Linked DNA regions of Homo sapiens: region 1 is linked to region 2. The links are contacts of gene promoters, found by promoter capture Hi-C in human tissues and cell types (Jung and others, 2019). All regions are on one chromosome and are shown on one strand. The core of a region is centred on a gene start or on the middle of the fragment in contact, and the rest is flanking DNA. Distances in the headings are between cores, read along the strand shown.

The links. The method cuts DNA at HindIII sites, captures the fragments that hold promoters and counts their contacts. A contact is called where the count stands out against the background at its distance.
Region 1: a contact is called between a fragment that was not itself captured here and the fragment with the promoter of POU3F1 in region 2, in 1 of the 25 tissues and cell types used here (spleen).

Annotation. Positions count from the first base shown.
Region 1 is chr1:38,566,731-38,569,430 of GRCh38, reverse strand. No RefSeq gene overlaps it. Among named protein-coding and RNA genes, the nearest start is that of LINC01685, 93 kb to the right of the region's middle. RefSeq lists an enhancer at 438-1,045. The HindIII fragment of the contact is 7,584 bases long and covers 1-2,700 here.
Region 2 is chr1:38,045,491-38,048,190 of GRCh38, reverse strand. POU3F1 (POU class 3 homeobox 1) reads left to right here and starts at 1,398. Exons shown (of 1, transcript NM_002699.4): 1 at 1,398-2,700. The coding sequence starts at 1,448. It overlaps MIR3659HG (MIR3659 host gene), which reads right to left and starts at 1,057. Exons shown (of 5, transcript NR_168386.1): 1 at 577-1,057. RefSeq lists enhancers at 94-594, 595-1,095 and a silencer at 1,008-1,337. The HindIII fragment of the contact is 7,503 bases long and covers 1-2,700 here.

The sequences.
Region 1 (2,700 bases), core at 162-2,661, 520 kb before region 2:
TACGAGGTGGCAGGGCTGGGACTGGGGCCCATAACTGTCCAGCACCCAAAGTCCACAGGATGCTAGAGGGAGGGGAAGCGAGACGGCAGAGGTGTGTGGAGATGTCAGGGGGAGAGGCTCCTCTGGTTTGTGTTTGAGGTCTGAGGTATGTGTCTTCTGAGTACACTGTGAGGTGTATCCCTGTGTGCACCCTGTGGAATGCTCCATGTGTGCTGGCTGTGTGTTTTGAACACATGCATGTAGAATGAATGTGGAGGGTGCTGAGTGTGTCTGTGTCTGTGGGCAGGCCCTGCGAGGGGCAGAAAGCAGCCCTCCTCGACGGAGTGCTGTGCCTCGTATCAGGTGCTCCACATTCCGATCCTTAACTGCCCCAGGTTTCACTGGTCATCAGGTCGTAATGCCACCCTTCCACCATCACAGCCCTGAATGCACCCTCGCGCTCCCACCTGCCCTTTCACGATCTCACCCTCTTACTTCTGGAAGCCCTCTGGGGTGTCTTTTGTGAGGCGGGTAATTGTTCTCTGATGTTCTGCTTCTCCAAACTCCTCCAGGAATATCTGCAGCCTGGAACTGGCAGAGGCTGCTGGGCCCCCGCAAGATTGCTAGAATTCACCCTGAGGGAAGTGCCCTGGTGTGCAGACCCACAAGCAGCACCAGATTCCATGCTGCACGAGGGCAGGGCTGCATCTCCGGCTCACCACTCAACCTCAGCACCAAGCACAGGCCTGGGAACATAATAGCTGCTCAATAAATAGATGCTTTATATTTCCTGGAAATGCCACTGCCTTAAACCATCCTGTGTCACATTTTGTAACTTGGTGTGTGAAAATGGCTCTTCACCTTCATTCTGCCTGCTGCTTAGTCCCTCAACAGGGATCAGATGCCAGACAGCCCCAAAGACCAAGATCTGAGACCAATGTCTTGTTTACCTTCCCATTCCTATAGTCAAAACCTTATGCAAATTTGCTCCTTGTAGAGCTGCCCACCAATTCACTAATACATTACTAATGGCTAATAATTCATGGCAAACATTTACTAAGCACTGGTCAAGTTCCAGACACTGTGCTAAGCTGTTAATGTGAGTGATGGCTTTTCAGTGCAAAGCAGCCCCGCGAGTTAGGCACTGTTTTTATCTCCATTTTACTGGTGAGGAATCTGAAGCTCAGAGATGTCAAGTAAACTTCCCAGAGTCACACAGCAGGTGAATAAGTGCAGGATCTGGGAGTTGAACCCAGGTGGTCTGACTTGCTTTTGACCACTGTATAGCATTAGCTTCAGATCACTCTGAATTCCAGCTAAATGAGGCCTGAGTGAAGAATCTTGATACTCATAGGTCATTAGCTTCATGTAAAAAAAAAAAAAAAAACAAAAAACAACCAAAAAAAAAAACCTTTGATGTATTATCCTGGTTTTACAGAGGAGGAAACTGAGCTCAGAGCAGTTAAGTAACTGCCAGCAGTCACACAACTATTAAAGAGGCTGAGCTAGGATTGGAACCCAGATCTGCTAGGCCCAAAGCCTCATTTCCCATGCTGTGCCATCCTCTGGAGGAGTGGAGATGGTCCTTGGCCACAAGGAAATGGGTGAAAAGTAAGGAAGGGGACCTGCCAATTAAAGATATGCAGTTTGGAGGTGGGTACCAGGGTCTCGGAAGAAAATATAGAAATCCAAGCATCCTGAGAGACCTCGGCAAAGGGGGCAGGTGACCTGTCATATATAAGGGGGCATTCAGAGTTGCCGATGCCCACATCACAGGCATGTTTTGCACTTTGGCCCTTCAGCAGGGAGTTCCTAAATTCTTTCCACATTACACGCTCCCATGGGATAAGAAGTCACTAGGACACTGTCCACAGGCATCTCTTTGTCCTGGGAGGGGTAGAGCCTCCACACTAACTGGATGGTCATTATAAACAGAATATGGCATCTCTATCTAGAGATAGCATGTGATCAAATAAAAAAGGAAAAAAAAGGTTTTGACTCGTACAAATCCAGGCCCTGCTGTTCATTAGCTGTGTGATGGTGGGCCAGGCACACGCCTCTGAGCCTCGGTTTCCTGGTGCATAAAATGGGGATATTAAGGCTTTCCCTTCCCACCTAGCAGGGCTGGTGGCGGTTGTGGGGGGCAGCAGTGGAGGGTGTGGAGGCCTTTGCTCTTGTTGCTGTGCAAATGTGTGCCACTGGATGCACCAGAATGTGAAGAATCCAGCCGGGTGCCGTGGCTCACGCCTGTAATACCAGTACTTTGGGAGGTTGAAGCAGGTGGATAACCTGAGGTCAGGAGTTCAAGACCAGCCTGGCCAACATGGTGAAACTCCATCTCTATTAAAAATACAAAAATTAGCCGGGCATGGTGGCAGATGCCTGTAGTCCCAGCTACTCAGGAGGCTGAGGCAGGAGAATCGTTTGAACCTGGGAGGCAGAGGTTGCAGTGAGCCAAGATCACGCCATTGCAACCCAGCCTGGACAACAAGAACAAAACTCCATCTCAAAAAAAAAAAAGTGAAGAATCTGGTCAGGGAAGGCAGCTTAGCAGAGGAAGGGAGTGGAGAAGGCATGGAAAGACATTTCTCAAAGGAATACAATCTACGGGGTCAGGTCAACATGGAAGTCCTCTCTCTAGCCTGTGCTGAATCCAGCAGTACAGAGCTTCTGTATCAGAAGGTAGAGATGTTTTTGTGTCCCAAGATGAGCCATTTTCAT
Region 2 (2,700 bases), core at 149-2,648:
CAGTACCCTCAGCCTGGGGCCCAAGGTCGGGTAAGAAGGCACAAAGGAACTGCAGTGAGGTCCGACTCCACTCAAGATCCTTCAGGGAGTCCTCAAGGGCTGGGGCGTGAGGAGGTAGCTAAATTCCACTGCCCACCTTTCCAACAAGGCCTCCTCAATCTCAATTCCCTTTTCAGCAGCTCCAGGCAAGTCCGGGCAAACTCTAGCCCAGGGCTCTTAGCGAGGCTGGACAGCTCCCGGCCTGCACGCCGGATTTCTGGAGAGCCCGAGCCCCTTCCCTGAGCCCATCCTTCTCCTCTCCCGGGGCGTGATCCCACCACGACCACAGCCGATGAGCCGTTCAAGCTGGGAGAAGGAGCGAGAAGGCTGCAGCGGCGCAGGTCAGATACCCCTGGGCCCAACGTCCACCCCCAACTAGCGCCCTTGCCAGCAGCGTTTTCCCCGGAGCCACAGTCTCCACCTCGAGATCTTCTCCTTCTGGAACCCCGGAGCGCGGCCGGGTACCAGGGGCTCGCGTAGGACTGTAGAACCGCTGCCGCCCGCCGTCCCAGCCCCAGCTGCCCGCGCGGTACTCACCTGGGCCTCAGTGCCCGGGAGAAGGTGTGCCCGCGCGAGGCGTGAAGCCAGAGTCCGTCCGACTCCGCCCGCACCGGACGCGCTCTCAGGGCAGAGGAGGTCGGCGGAGTTGTGACGCTGGGACTAGAGGAAGGAGAAGGAAAGCCGAGACGGGCCGGGCAGACGCGCCGAGGAGCGCCCAGTGCACGCTGGCAGCCGCGGGAGGCGAGGCGGGCGCGGTGAGCAGTCGCGCCGGAACCGAGCCGCGAATCCGCGCCGCCTCGCGCTCGCAGCCGCCAGGACCCGCGGGAATCCTGGTCCGCCGGCAGCGGTACTGAGGAGGGAGGGGCGCGGGGCTGAGCCGCTTCTCGGAGCCCGAGCGCCTCCCGGAGCCGGCAATCCCTGCTGCCCGGGCGGGATGCGGGCGGGAATTCAGCTCGCGTGGAATGTGGGACCGGCCGGGCTCGGAGTCTCCAGCGCTGGGGGAAAGCGGGGCCCACACAGCCAGGACGAGAGGGGGTGCGGTCCCAGGGCCACCCCCGCGCCACTCCCCACGTGGCGGCCGCGCCCCCGGGGCGTGAGTGTGTACGCGGACGGTAGGGGGGCCGTGAATGAAGCCCCAGCGGCCAATCAGCACGGCCGGCGCGCGGGACCCCGGGAGCGACGCCCAATGGAGAGCTCTGGGCGGCCGGGCAGGGTGGCGGGCGGGCGCGCGGGGCGGGGGCCGGGCAGGGGAGGCGGGAGGCAGCTCCGCGGGCAGCCAATGGGCGGCGGGCGGGGTGGGGCTCCGGAGCGCCGAGCGGGTCGGGGCTTTAAGCCGGCGGAGCGAGGCGGCGGGGCCCGCAGACGGAGCGGAGCGGCGGCGGCGGCGCGGCGCAGGGCGCGGGGCGGCATGGCCACCACCGCGCAGTACCTGCCGCGGGGCCCCGGTGGCGGAGCCGGGGGCACCGGGCCGCTTATGCACCCGGACGCCGCGGCGGCGGCGGCGGCGGCGGCGGCCGCGGAGCGATTGCATGCAGGGGCCGCGTACCGCGAAGTGCAGAAGCTGATGCACCACGAGTGGCTGGGCGCGGGCGCGGGCCACCCCGTGGGCCTAGCGCACCCCCAGTGGCTACCCACGGGAGGAGGCGGCGGCGGCGATTGGGCCGGCGGCCCGCACCTAGAACACGGCAAGGCAGGCGGCGGCGGCACCGGCCGAGCCGACGACGGCGGCGGCGGCGGAGGTTTCCACGCGCGCCTGGTGCACCAGGGGGCGGCCCACGCGGGCGCGGCATGGGCGCAGGGCAGCACAGCGCACCACTTGGGCCCGGCCATGTCGCCCTCGCCCGGGGCCAGCGGGGGCCACCAGCCCCAGCCGCTCGGGCTGTACGCGCAGGCGGCCTACCCGGGGGGCGGCGGCGGCGGCCTGGCCGGGATGCTGGCGGCGGGCGGTGGCGGCGCGGGGCCGGGCCTGCACCACGCGCTGCACGAGGATGGCCACGAGGCGCAGCTGGAGCCGTCGCCGCCGCCGCATCTGGGCGCCCACGGACACGCACACGGACATGCACACGCGGGCGGCCTGCACGCGGCGGCGGCGCACCTGCACCCGGGCGCGGGCGGCGGCGGCTCATCGGTGGGCGAGCACTCGGACGAGGATGCGCCCAGCTCGGACGACCTGGAGCAGTTCGCCAAGCAGTTCAAGCAGCGGCGCATCAAGCTGGGCTTTACGCAGGCCGACGTGGGGCTGGCGCTGGGCACGCTCTACGGTAACGTGTTCTCGCAGACCACCATCTGCCGCTTCGAGGCCCTGCAGCTGAGCTTCAAGAACATGTGCAAGCTCAAGCCGCTGCTCAACAAGTGGCTGGAGGAGACCGACTCGTCCAGCGGCAGCCCCACCAACCTGGACAAGATCGCGGCGCAGGGCCGCAAGCGCAAGAAGCGCACGTCCATCGAGGTGGGGGTCAAAGGCGCGCTCGAGAGCCACTTTCTCAAGTGCCCCAAGCCCTCGGCGCACGAGATCACCGGCTTGGCAGACAGCCTGCAGCTGGAGAAGGAGGTGGTGCGCGTCTGGTTCTGCAACCGGCGGCAGAAGGAGAAGCGCATGACCCCTGCGGCCGGCGCGGGCCACCCGCCCATGGACGATGTATACGCGCCTGGGGAGCTAGG